Linked DNA regions of Homo sapiens: regions 1, 2 and 4 are each linked to region 3. The links are contacts of gene promoters, found by promoter capture Hi-C in blood cells and fetal thymus (Javierre and others, 2016). All regions are on one chromosome and are shown on one strand. Each heading gives the region's core, a stretch centred on a gene start or on the middle of the fragment in contact. The rest is flanking DNA. Distances are from core to core; before and after follow the strand shown.

What was found. The method cuts DNA at HindIII sites, captures the fragments that hold promoters and counts their contacts. A CHiCAGO score of 5 or more calls a contact.
Region 1: a contact is called between a fragment that was not itself captured here and the fragment with the promoter of FERMT1 in region 3, in 1 of 17 cell types (total CD4 T cells). The highest score is 5.6, in total CD4 T cells.
Region 2: a fragment that was not itself captured here is called in contact with the fragment with the promoter of FERMT1 in region 3 in 1 of 17 cell types (total CD4 T cells); the score reaches 5.2 in total CD4 T cells.
Region 4: a fragment that was not itself captured here is called in contact with the fragment with the promoter of FERMT1 in region 3 in 1 of 17 cell types (total B cells); the score reaches 6.3 in total B cells.

What each region holds. Positions count from the first base shown.
Region 1 is chr20:5,447,134-5,450,447 of GRCh38, reverse strand. No RefSeq gene overlaps it. Among named protein-coding and RNA genes, the nearest start is that of LINC00658, 3.0 kb to the right of the region's middle. The HindIII fragment of the contact is 1,590 bases long and covers 749-2,338 here.
Region 2 is chr20:5,509,173-5,512,793 of GRCh38, reverse strand. LINC01729 (long intergenic non-protein coding RNA 1729) reads left to right here and starts at 2,792. Exons shown (of 3, transcript NR_109860.1): 1 at 2,792-2,918. The HindIII fragment of the contact is 7,387 bases long and covers 1-3,621 here.
Region 3 is chr20:6,121,240-6,124,431 of GRCh38, reverse strand. FERMT1 (FERM domain containing kindlin 1) reads left to right here and starts at 1,402. Exons shown (of 15, transcript NM_017671.5): 1 at 1,402-1,658. RefSeq lists a silencer at 1,397-1,516. The HindIII fragment of the contact is 14,554 bases long and covers 1-3,192 here.
Region 4 is chr20:5,464,359-5,467,649 of GRCh38, reverse strand. It overlaps LOC107985411 (a long non-coding RNA gene), which reads left to right. Exons shown (of 3, transcript XR_001754485.1): 2 at 2,721-2,863. Among named protein-coding and RNA genes, the nearest start is that of LINC00658, 20 kb to the right of the region's middle. The HindIII fragment of the contact is 3,015 bases long and covers 333-3,291 here.

The sequences.
Region 1 (3,314 bases), core at 294-2,793, 670 kb after region 3:
AGGGTCTGGATTGGGACCTCTTTTTTTTTTGGCAACACAAGGACATGCCAATTGTAACTTTAGGTCTACAAACTAAGTCTAGTTCTTAATTTCTTTTTTTTTTTTTTTTGAGACTAACTCTCATTCTGTCACCCAGGCTGGAATGCAGTGATGCGATCTCGGCTCACTGCAACCTCTGCCCCCTGGGTTCATGCGATTCTCCTGCCTCAGCCTTCCAAGTAGCTGAGATTACAGGTGCATGCCACCATGCCTGGCTAATTTTTTTTTTTTTTTTTTTTTTGAGAAGGAATTTCATTCTTATTGCCTGGGCTGGAGTGCAATGGCGTGATCTCAGCTCACTGCAACCTCCGCCTCCTGGGTTCAAGCGATTATCCTGTCTCAGCCTCCTGAGTAGCTTGGACAGGCATGCGCCACCACACCCAGCTAATTGTTGTATTTTTAGTAGAGATAGGGTTTCACCATGTTGGTCAGGCTGGTCTCGAACTCCTGACCTTAGGTGATCCACTTGCCTTGACCTCCCAAAGTGCTGGGATTACAGGCATGAGCCATTGTACCCGGCCTTAATTTTTGTATTTTTAGTAGAGATGGAGTTTCACCATTTCATCCAGGCTGGTCTCGAGTTCCTGACCCCAAGTGATCTGCCCGCCTTGGCCTCCCAAAGTGCTGGGATTACAGGCGTGAGCCACCGTGCCCAGCCTAGCTCCTAAAATTAAAGTTGATTCCATGCTGATAATGTTGATCGCAAGCTTAGATAGAAGTGCAGGTGCAGAATAAAGACAAGACTCATTCCTATACCTACCCAGAGACATCTGCATACTTGACTCTTCCTTTACTCTCTTTTTATTTTCAAACATCCAATTTGTCTTATGTAAAATGTAGATTTACCAGGCAGCAGCTAGAGTCTCACAGGAATGTAGCCATTCGCCTTACCACCTGTCTGCCCTTTTTCCTAAAAGCCTTTCCCCCATTTAAGGAAATGTGTAAATACTAAATCCCCTGAAACTCTCTTGAGAAAAACAGCCACAGATGTACCTGTGGCTTGTATTTTTCCCGGAAGCACCCTCAAGCTGACTTAATAAACCTCGATGATTGAGATTTATGCCTTGGTCATTCTATTCAGATGTCAGAAGGACCCATGGGAAGACTCAGAGAGAAAGGTCTGTAGGAAGAGGCTAAGGAGCCCAATCTTCTCCCAGAAAATGGACGCTTCGGGTGGTCATGAATTGTAGGGCTATTGGTACTGGGGTGAGTAAAGAGGAAGAGAAAGAGAGCAAGGCCCCAAGGAGAAGGGGAAACAGGGAGGGAGGAAGGGGCCATGCCCTGTCCTCCCCTCCTCCAGTGTCCCTGCCCCTCTCCAACTTCAGAATTCCCATTGCTCCTTGAGAACTCAGACACTAGCTTCCCCACCAAGGCCTCCTCCCTCTGCATTCCCCCAGCCTGTCCATTCTCGGTCACACTGACTCCGAGTCTGGTCAGCTGCCTGTATGCCTGTCTCACCCAGTTAACTTAAATTCCTTGGGGTCAGGAACAATGCTTTCTTCTTATTTTCCATGCCACAGCTCCAGTTACTGTGACTGACACACAGAAATATTGGCTTGGAGTCGATTATCTCAGGGATGCAGCTCAAAGTAAATGTGTCTTGTATAGAGTGGGCATAGGGATGCTTTAATGAGGAACGAGCAAGTCCCAAGAGGAGCAAGGAAAACTTGAGCTGCAACCACTTTGCATTTCAGATGATGAATTAGAGCGGTTGTTATCGAATCTGCCACCAGAGGGCGATCCAGGTAAAAAAGATCTTCGGGCTACTCTTCAGCCCGGTGACCTGATCTTCCCCCAAACTCAGATCCTTGCTGCCTCCCAGAAACAGCAGACACCTAAGTCCAATGTAGCTTGCCAGGATCTCAGGGAATGAAATTTTATAGTTTGCTGGCATTTTCCTCAGGGGAGCAGAGGCAAGAAAACAATCAAATCCAAGTTTGCGCCACTGCACACCAGCCTGGGCGACAAAGCAAGACTCCCGTCTCAAAAAAAAAAAAAAAAGAAAAGAAAAGAAAAGAAAAGAAAAGAAAGAAAACAATCAAATCCATGGTCTGCTGTTTACTGGATGAAGAATAAGACTGCCTAAAGGCAATGTGTTTAGTACAAAGGTGTCATAAGCTCTGAGATGGTTCCTGCTTTACCAATTTCTGGAAGTGTGACATTAAAGCAACCATTCTCTTTTCTGGGCCTGGTTTTCCTCTGTAAAATGTCAGTTCAAGTTCCAGCCTGTCTTGGGATGTCATCGGCCTTTACAACCTACTTGGGCTATGGCCCTGCGATTAAGTGCACAGTGGAAGCTTAGTCCCCTTGCTTTTCTGCCTCTCTTAGGGAACCACAGTCACAGAAACCAGCACTTGCTGCCATAGGAACTGCTAATATCTTGGACATTCCCTGTATTCTCTCCCAGCCCAAACAGGCATAGCCAGAGGAGTGAGACATGCAGAAAAATGAAAGAAGCCCAGGGCATTGTTCAGCAGTGAGCCTAAAGTCTGTACATGCGATAGCATAATATTTGTGAAAATTCTTGCAAAATGCAAAGCTGATGGCATATGACTTGTAACTCATTCTTGTATATAACAGTAGATCAACATGCAACTGAAGAAAGCACTACTCAGGATGGAAGTAGCCTTGGGAGGGAGGCAAGGAGTAGTGAGGAGGGAGAGAATGAGCTGTTTCTGTAACATTTCATTTCATAAGAGAGATGGATGGACTTCAAGCATCTGTGGCAAAAGGTCACCTCAGATAAATCTGATTGGTTCCAAATTATTTTCTGTAATCCTCCCTATGTTTGACTCATTATTTTAATTAAAAAGAAAAAATATTTAAAGTAATTTTAAAAATAACAGAGCTCACCAGCCCCTTAGAGCGCAGCTTGGTCTAGGGTAGTTTCTTTAACTAGCAGAGCTTTCTGTAGATACAGACATGCGTTCACAAAGTATCTTTAGGTTTCCCAGGCCCGGAGGGGTGAGATAATACTAAGGGAGGGAGATCTGCTCTTGGAGGAGGGACCTGCTCTAACCAGCCCTGTAGCTCTGCAAATCTTTGGGATTTTGTCCTTATCTGTAAATAGGGATGACGTTTGTCCCATTTATCTCATTCAGTTATAATGTGCATCAGATAAGATGATATTTGTAAAAACAACTTGAAAATACAAAATGATGTACACAGGTATTATTTAGTTGTGAAGCTCTAAGTCCTGAGGCCTCGTTTATATTAACAATAGCAATAAAAATAACAATACAGACTGGGCGTGGTGGCTTACACCTGTAATCCCA
Region 2 (3,621 bases), core at 704-3,203, 610 kb after region 3:
AGTCCCCTCTCATCTTATTCATGCTAAATGTACAGATGTGATCAATAGAATCAAAGGGAAATCGAGCCCTGAGGAGAGGGCCAGACTCCGGGAGGAGAGGGGTTGGAGTCAAACGGGGGGATCTGCAGCTCTGAGTGCAGGGGCTTCAAACCTTAAGAGCTCGACAGCAGTGTGAAGTGGAATCGGGGGGAATGAGGTCCAAGTTTATGTTGGGAAGAATATAAGCATGATTTGGAGATTCCTGGTGTTCATGTGTCCCCAACAAGTACAGCTGGGAGGCACTGGAGGAAAGATTGGTGCTAGAAGTTCATGTGGGAACAGGGCAGACCCTTGGATAAATGTGGGGTCTCTTAGGCATTGCAGGGGTTTGAATAGAGGCCCTAACACTGTGGTGGGGATAGTGCCAAAGAACTCCAACATGTATTTTATCAGGGGTTTAACATAAATATCAATTCTGGAGAAAATCGGCACCAGGAGTTAAAATCTCATTTAATCTTCTATAAGATGCTATATATGTGGAAAACAAAGTTAAGTGTCAAATTATTACCAAATTGCTGCAACAAATGACCAATGCAGCAATCCCGCATAGCTATAAGGGCTCAGGGAACAGAGGGGGTCACCATCACCCTGGGAGAAGGAGACAGCACAGAAGAAGGTCTGTGACTCAGCTCAAAGACAGGAAAATGGTTTTGTGGGCAGGCAATGAGGAAAGGGGGACAGAGTTGCAGTTTTCTGAGATAAAGCCTCTTAGGTGTTTTTTGACTACTTGATTGTTCCCTGTGAATGTATAAGTTTGATTTTAAAAATAAATAGAGAAGAGCCTCTTTCCTGACACCACCCAATCTCTGAGCCCCACAGATGATGTTCTAGTTTCTTGCAGGAGGTTCTGGTCCCACCTGCCTGCTCCCTTCTAAGACAACCCCACCAGCAAGGAGGTCTTCTAGTTCTTTCTGTGAGTGTTCTCTTGCTGGTCCTGGCTTGGGCCCCTGGGCCCAGGAACCTCTGGGTTCTCTCAGCTACACTTCCATCCGTGGTCCCCAACCTCAGTGTCCAGGATGCTGTGGCTGACCTCCTGGAGGGAGTGTGGCTCCTCACAGGTATCTACCTTGTAGTGCATCAGGCCAGGCCTCCTGCGGCAGCTCTCTGATGACCGAGTGTGGTGGGGATGCTAAGGCCAGGCTGGTTGCCCAGACCTACTTTGCTGCCTGACTGTTTCAAATAGTTGGTGAAGGCTCTGGATTTTCCTCAGAACTGTGGTCCGGAGTGCTCCCACCCCTTCTCTTCCCCTCTCTCCCTCACATTGGGAGTGAGACTTGCTTCATGGTCCGGTGGCTCTCCCAGTCTTTTGTAACTCTTTTCACAAAGGTATATCTCCCACTAAAACCCTTGCAATTTAATCCTGTCTTGGTGTCTGCTTCTCAGAAGAGCTGGATAACACACTCCAACCCTTCTCTCAGTCCCTGCAGCCCCTGTGGTGGGGTTGACTGTGGGTGACCACAGAGCCAGGCTGGCCTCGTCCAAACCGCAGGCTGCTACTTCACAAGGCCTGACCCCACTAAGAACTGTGTTTCTCCATGTTTCTGCTGGTCATATCCAGTGCATCTAGATTGCCTTTTTTTTTTGAGATGGAGATTCGCTCTTGTTGCCCAGGCTGGAGTGCAATGGCATGATCTTGGCTCACTGCAACTTCCGCCTCCCAGGTTCAAGCAATTCTCCTGTCTCAGCCCCCCGAGTAGCTGGAATTACAGTCATGAGCCACCACACTCGGCTAATTTTGTATTTTTAGTAGAGACAGGGTTTCTCCTTGTTGGTCAGGCTCGTCTCAAACTCCTGACCTCAGGTGATCCACCCGCCTTGGCCTCCCGAAGTGCTGGGATTACAGGCGTGAGCCACCATGCCTGGCTCATTTTTTTTTCTTTTTTAAGTAGAGATGGGGTTTTGCCATGTTGCCAAGGCTGTTCTGGAACTCCTGAGCTCAAACAGTCCTCCCACCTTGGCCCCCCAAAGTGCTGAGATTACAGGTGTGAGCCACCACACCCGGCCTGGACTACCAATCTTGATGGCAACATTAGACTGGGGGCCACTGTAGTCATAACAGTGGTGGACCAGGCAGCAGAGTCTTGTCTTCAGTACCATGGACACCGCAGCATCCAGTGCTAGCAGGTATTTTAGAATGCAGGGTCAGATGCATTCTAACCCTCCTCTGCCCTCCCTGAGAGGGCGACCCCAATCCTCCGCCCCTCCCTGCAGCTGCTAGGCAGGCCTCCTGCGCTCTTCACTGCCTCTAGCAGCGTCTTGAAACAGCTGGCTCTGGAAGGCATCCTGATTCTGGATTCAAGAGCTTTGCTTGGATTTCTGTATGAAGGTGTGAAGTGTGAATGCCACCTTTTCTGAGTTACATTTTCATTTTCTGTTGCAAACTTGGGACGTTTACTGAGGGACACTGAATAGTTGGGGGGTGGATGGGGCGAGGGAGGCAGTGGCTAGAAGGAAGGAAGGAAGCATTATAGCAGGGGGGCTCTCTGGGACAGGGCATAGGACAGAGATGGCTCCAGGAGGATTTCACAGGAAAGAATGAGGGGTGGGATGTAGTGATGTCACAAGAGTCCCACTGTGACCCCTCCCCCATCATTGGAGCAAGGACTGGCTAAGCCTGAGCAAGGGTGGGGGAAATAAATAAGGCACTGTTGCCAGGGCCTGAGCCCAGCAGGAAAAGGGTGTGTGCAGAGGGAGGGCCTCGGGTCCTGCTGCTCCTCCTGGACTCCTTCATCCCAATCCCTTCACATCCTTCTCTGACAAGGACTCCCACGTCCCTCCCCGGCTAACCTGGATCCTGCTCAACCCAACACCTGCCTTCTCTCGGTCCCTGGGTTCCCGCAGGCCTTGGGGCCCCACAGTCATATCTGCTGTTCCTGCAGGTCAGTGGCCAGGGTGGGGGTGGGTGTTGGTGCAAAGGAAACCTCTTGAAAGGGGCAGAGCACAGATGGGGCCTCCACCAGTCTTGCTGGGTGAGGGCTTCCCACCATCCTGGAATCCTCTCCTGGGTCTCTAGTTGACCACCCTCCTGCCTCCCCTTTTTCCTTGTTTTGGTCCTGCTGTTGGATTTCTTTTAAAATCCTCCTGCCTCCAGCCTCCCTTGATGATCAGTTCCTGCCTGGGGTCACCAGGCTGCTTCAAATTGGGGTGACCATGGTAGGGATGGTGACTTGAGATTCCTGGGCCATAATGCAGGTGAGAAATGTGCCCTACAGAGTAAAAAGGAACAGTGTCACTGCTGGGTCATTTTGAAGATGGGACTTAGGCAACACATGTCCCTTAAATCCAGTCTCTGAGGGTACCACAAATACCATGTTTTTTTTTTCAAATTCTAGCAGAGAGGTTGTACTGGGTTGAGAGAGAGGCCTCAGAATCAAGACCTTGTCTCCTGCCACAGTTTCCCTGGTGAAGCTCCCAGGCTGAGCACAAACTTCCAGGTCGAGCACAGAAGTTTCGACCTGGAAACTTCAGCCCTCAGAGAGGAGGTGGCACTAACGCTCTAGGTGGGCGGCTGCTCTATGGTCTTCTGCTGCCTGGAGAGCTTTGCCTCCATCACTGGTGCCCACCTGGGGAATGCTCAGGAAC
Region 3 (3,192 bases), core at 153-2,652:
ATTGTAGTCCCAGCTGCTCGGGAGACTGAGGCAGGAGAATCACTTGAACCCGGGAGGCGGAGGGTGCAGCAGTGAGCCAAGATCGTGCCACTGCACTCCTGCCTGGGGACAGAACAAGACTCCATCTCAAAAAAATATATGTGTGTGTGTGTGTGTGTGTGTGTGTGTGTGTGTGTTTGTGCGCGCGCGCGCGCGCGCACTGACCACAGTCTAAGTTCTAATGGGCCATAAGCAGGGTTTCATGATGTTAAGAGGTAGGGAAGTGGGACCAGATGACCCTTCCCATCGTTGACAAACGCTACCAAGTGAAGACATTCTGTTTCAAGTTTTTAATGATTTTATTTCAATTATAATATCCTATATTTGCCAACAATGTTCAACTAACCTTTTTAAATTAAATGTACTTTCAAACCCATAATAATTCCTGAATATGGTAATGTTTAAGCGAAAACAGATTCAACTTCTAAATTTTATAACTTCTTTATTAAAATTTAAGTGTTCACAAGCCTTTTAATGCAAATCGCTAAAGCCTGTACTATATTGCATGAAATCCCTCCGTGGAAGAGCACGCATTCTATCTCTGTACCTATTTCACAGATGAGGAAACTGTCATTTCCATGTCTGTTTTATTAACCACTGTATTCTCTGAGCCCAGGCCCATTGGGAGGCCTGTAGAGCAGTAAGCACTCAACAAATGTGATTAAATGAACAAAGGAGGCTTGGAGAGGTTGTGTAAACTGCCCAGGTCACCCACCCTTCCTGGGTGGCCCCAGCCCTCTTTGAAAATAAATCCAACAGGAAGGCGACTGGCGGGACCGGTGGTGATCCTGAGGTGAGCCATACCAGGTGTGGCCCAGACTTCCGCATGCAGCCTGCCCTTGGGTCTCCTGGAGTCTCCCCTGGTCGGGAGCCTCAGCCTTCTGGAGACTGACACCACCCTCTTACTCAGAGACGAATCGTTTTGTCGTTGCCTTCACCTCCCTGACCACAAGTGCTCCGGGGCTCTTTCTGAGGGAGGCAGCTGTTCTAGGCGGGAGGCTGGAGTCTCCTGGGCCTGGACGCACCCCGGGGTGTGAGTGATGGGTATGCCTGAAAGGAGGGGAAGTGGCGCGGCTTTAATCATCTGGGCTAGTCCCCGGCGGGCCTGGGGGAACAGGGAAACTGGAGGCGGCCTTAAAGCGTCAGGATGAGACATCGCAAGAGGAGCTGCAGATACTGAGCGTGCGCCCCGGGTTCTCGCCGCCTTCTCTCCGCCGAGCAGCCCTTCGGCCACCCTTTGCCCTTAAAAATCTGCAGACTGCGCCTCCTCTCCGCGGGAGCGAGACCTAGCAGGCCCGGGGCTGGGCGTGCCCTCGCCTGCCACGCTGCGCGCTGCCCTCAGCCGGGCCGCTGGGGCCGTGCAGTGCACCGGGCACGCCGCGCCAGGCTGGGGGCAGGCACCGAGCCTCCGTGGGAGGTCCCGAGGCAGCTTCGCCTGCTCGCCCTGGCTCCAGCCCTCACCTGCCGCAGCCTTAGCTGAGCAGCCGCCGCCACTGGGCGCCCCCCGCTCCCCACTTCGCCAGCGCCCGCTCCTCGGCTCGGCCCGGGGTAGTTTGTAGGGACGCAGCTCTCCACGTGCGCGACTGCGAGGCTGGACGCTACGGGCTCCTGGAAAGGAGGTGGGTGCTCCGGAGCTAGGGCTGGGGAGCTAGAGGTTGGGAGGCTTTCATGGGCACCAGTGGCTCCTGAGCCCCCTTAGCCCCTTTCTTTCTGCAGCCTCTTGTACTTAAATAGCTGTTGATTGAAAATAATTTCGTCTGGATGTGACCACCTTCTCCGGCCCTACGCATCTGGCCGCAAAATAAACTTTCAGTTCAGCCGCAGGTGCTGCCTTAATGGGAGTAAGGGGCATGCTTTATCCACCCAACATCCGCCCCAGGATCCTGCAGAGCTGGCAAAAGACAGGTCGGGTGGCCTTCGAACACCAAGCACCTTCAGATATTCCAGGGGAAGGGTCGGGGACTGTTTCCCCCTCATCTTTCCTCCTTCCTGCTCTCCATCCCTCCATGCTTTCGTTTCTTTGACTGTCTGCGAAGGGCTTTTCAGCACTCTGCCAGTAACTTTGCTTCTTGTTTTGGTCTCCTTAGATGCGTTTTCCCGGCTGAAGTTTGCTGCTATCCTTGACAAGTAACAGCTTGCTGCAGACTAGACGTTCACTCAAAAATGAAGGCACAGAAAGATAGGAAAGGAATGCAGGAAAACCAGCTTGGCTAATTTTAGCCTGCATTTTGTTGTAAGGGGAATCAGCATCTATTGCCTGAATGAGTAGTGTTTTGATCACCCAAGTTAGGAAAAGACCTTATATCAGATTGCCCAGTGAAATAAGCAGTAAGGAATCACCTTTAAAAGTTATTTTCTTTATATACAAAACATTTTAAATAACTAGACTTCACAATTATAGCATTTAAGAAATTGTAAGGATCTTAAAGTCGAACAGTTCAATGCCAAGTTATGAGTTTGACGATGAAGGGGCATCTTTTGTCTCCTCACTGCGCAAGATTTGTGTTGATAGAAATGCTTAGTAAAGGCTACTGAGAATTTAGTTCACGTAGTTTGAGGAGTTTTCTTTCATTTTGGCATTGCAACATTATCAAAGTGGTTTCCCAGTGTGGTGAATAAGAGTTTGAAATAGAAAGGCAGACCTGGATTTCCACCTGGGCTCCAGCATCTAACTTGCTGTGTGACCTCAGGCAACTTGCTTCATCTCTCTGAGGCTGAGTTTCCTCATTTCTAAATGAGATTGCTGAGAGGATGAAAAAGGGATAACAGAAGACAGGAGTTAACACAGAGCACATCATACAGTCAGTAGGTAATAAATGATACCTGAAGCTGATGATGACAGAGGCAAGCAGTTAGGCCTAATGCAGTCACTGAGTGGCACTCCTCATGCAGAGGGTTCTGTGTGGATCTCTGTGCATGGGGAGGAGATGCATTGCATCGTTGCATGCTTCTGACTATAGAAACATAAGGAACGGCTGGGCGTGGTGGCCCACGCCTGTAATGCCAGCACTTTGGGAGGCCAAGGCAGGTGGATCACGAGATCAGGAGTTCAAGACCAGCCTGGCCAGCATGGTGAAACCCTGTCTCTACTAAAAATACAAAAATTAACCGGGCGTGGTGGCACACGCCTGTAATCTCAGCTACTTGGGAGGC
Region 4 (3,291 bases), core at 591-3,090, 660 kb after region 3:
CCTGGGCAACAAGAGCAAAACTCTGTCTCAAAAAAAAAAAAAAAAAAAAAAAAAAGGAAAAGAAAAGAAAATTTATCAAGATGTACCCTTATGACATTTGCACGTTTTTCTGTGTGTGTGTGTATACTATTACATGTAATACACATATACGATACTTCAATAAAAGTTAAATTAATACATTAAAAAATAAGAAATGGGAGGGAGGGAGGGAGAGAGAAATTGAGGGAAAGAGGGAGGAAACACCAGGCAGAAGCTGTATCCTCTTGAGCTAACCTTAGAAGTCACCTAGAATCACTCCCACCACACTTCACTGCTTGGAGAAGCCACAAGCTTCCATCCAGATTGATGGGGAGGGAAACTAGACCCCACCTTTCAGGAAGAGGAAGGTTAATCACATTGCAAGAAGAGCAGGTGGCATGGAATAAATGTATAGATGTGTCCATCTTGGGAAAATACGATCTGTCCCGGCAGTGTAGGGGAGGTGGAAAGTGGTGGTGCAGTGGCTAAAAGTGCAGGCTCTCTCAGGCCCCAGCCCGAGACAGGCCAATTCAGTCTGTCTGCAGGGAAGCCTTGGGAATCTGTACTTTCACAGGATGGGGCTGACATGCAAATGCAATGGGTGACCCTTTAGAATTACTGCCACATGAATTGAGGGTTTGAATTCTAGAGTTAGAAGAATTCTTTTGGACAAGTCCATTAACTTTTATTACTCTCAGCTTCCTCAGCCACAAAAGTGGCATCACGGTTCCTACACCATACGTGTATCATAAGGATTGAAATAGCATTCTTAACGGGCTTAGTGGAGTGCCTTGCATGTAGAAAGTGCCCCATAGATGGTATTATTATTGTTATCACTGTTTTCAAATTATGGGAATAGACATACCTGAAAAATTAGAGCACTGACAGCCCATTCTGGAGTTCTCAGGACACCAAGTCTCCATCAGACTCTGCCTTTGCATCTGGAGGCCAGCTGGAAGGCCAGACTGCTTTGGTGACAGGGAGAGGATGGCATGGCTGTCAGTGGATCTTGAGACTGAGAAGGTGCAGGGCTTGCTTATGGACCCCACAGTTGGAATGTGGAAGTGTCAGGTAAAGCCCAGGGATCCTGGGACCCCGACTTGTGTTCCACTGCTGGTCTCCTTCCCTCAAGTGCCCAGCTGGCCTCAAGTTTCCTCTCGTTGAGTGAGGCTTGTTGCCAGCTTCCTCACTCACCCTGGGGAAGCAGAAAGTCTCAAAATGCAGGCAGACACTGTGGGCAGGAAGGGCATCTCCTGTCACAGTGGGTGGTGCCTACATAGGCATAGGGGACTCCTGCGGGAACCACAGTATCGGGAGAGCTGGTGCCTTGTCACTGAAACCAGTGGAAAGAAACATTTACTTATAGAAGCTATGCAAACATACCTTTCATCACACCACTCTCCAGCTCCCTAACCCTCAATGGCTCCCCTGTGCCTTAAGAAAATCTAACTGTGGACCTTATAAGACAAAAATATACCTAAGCCCTCCAACCCAGGGAAAATAAACCAAGTGTTCTCCTTTAAGCACATCCCAAGCCCTCCTGTCTTTGTTCCCAGCTTCTCCCTACTGTCCTTCTTGCTCAGATCTTATTGTCATTGTCATTGCAATGACAGTAAGTTCCTTTCTCTCTTCTTTCCAGCCTCTACCGGCCACTGTGGCTCCAGAGTGAACTCCTCACATCTTCCTCTGAATTCTTCTAGAGTAACTCTGTAGCAGTCATCGACAGTAGGTCCCATTTCATCAGTAGGAAAAGCCTGTTTTTGTCTCCCTTTGAAGACTTTTCTGTCAGTCTGCCTTAGATTTTTCTAATTCCCTGCAGCTCCTGTTCAAAAACTGTTTCCCCCAATTGACTCATACAGTGCCCAAATTGTACACAAGCCAATGCAGATTTCAGAAATCCTATTGTCACAGGATCCTCTGGGTGTCGCTTCACCAGCTAGAAACCTCATGGCCGGCAGCGCCTCTACTTGAATATTGCTCACGCCCACTGGGTTCATTCCACCCATTCAGCCTGGCAGGCTGTGCCCAGCTTGCACTACCAGCCCAGATCCCATGCCTGCCGAGGGCAAGCCAGATGCAGAAAGGCGAAGGGTGTGTGAGTGAGCAAGTGCGGAGTGTGGCCCCTGCACACAGCCAGGCACGCCAACTGCCGCAGCAGGGCGGACGGCTCCAGGCACCGGCATAGGCACTGGCTCCATGCAAGGCTGCGGCTGGAGCAGGCATACTACAAGCGGCTTCTCCTGCAGTTGCCAGCATCTGGATGAAGGGAATGTGGTGGCTCCTGAAAACCTGGAGATGCCAGCAACTGCAGATCCTCTACGGGTTGGGGGTGCATGTTACAGCTCTCTCATTCCCACCACCCGCAGCGCGACAGCATGGCAAACAGCGGTGGGAGGCAATGTGTTTCAGCCCATTTGTGTTACGGCTTGTTCAATCCCATCACCCCAACTCCAGCCCACAGCTCCTGGGCTGGCCTGCCCCGCCACTGCTTCCTGTCACATCTGGCAGCCGCCCAGCACTGGTGGAGGGCGGGAGGGCTATAGTGTTACAGCTCTGGCTTGGGAATTCTGAGGTCTGCGTCCCCAGAAGGGTCACCACTCTTCACTCCCACAGTTTGGTGAACAGGGAAGCATATCACGACCTGCAGCTCAGTGAGCTGGCCAGGAAAGTGTTACAGCCCTTTTTGTGCACTCTGTTCGCAGGTCCTGAGTTGTTATCGCAAGTCCAGGAAGAATGAGGTTACTCAGGCAACTGGAGGGTGAGGATGGAGAAGAGCTTTATTGAGCAACAGAACAGCTCTCAGCAGAGAGGAGACCCAAAGTGGGTAGCTCCTACCTGCAGGAAGGTAATCCCAATGTGTGTCTGAGTCCTGCTGAGTCTAGGGGTTATTATAGGTGCAGAATGGAGGAAGTGCATGCTGATTGGTCCATGAGTGGGAGGAAGTGCATGCTGATTGGTTCAAGGGTAGGTCCAAAAAACCAGTCACCATCAACTGGCTGAAAGGCATCAAGGAAATTCTTACTCCCAGTCAGGGACTCCACCTGGAACTGGCAGCTTGGCCTCCAGGCTTCAGGCCATCCCTGGTTTGAAGGTTGGGCCTCACCAGGGACCCACCCCTTCCCACCTAGGTACCTGTCTGCCTCCTGCCACCATCACTATTGTTAAATCTCAGGGTGGAAGGCATGAGGGGTGGGCAATGGGAAGTGTAAATTTGTGAATTATCACTTTGGCTAAGTGAATGACTTAGTTTACAGTAATCTGTCATCCTATTTT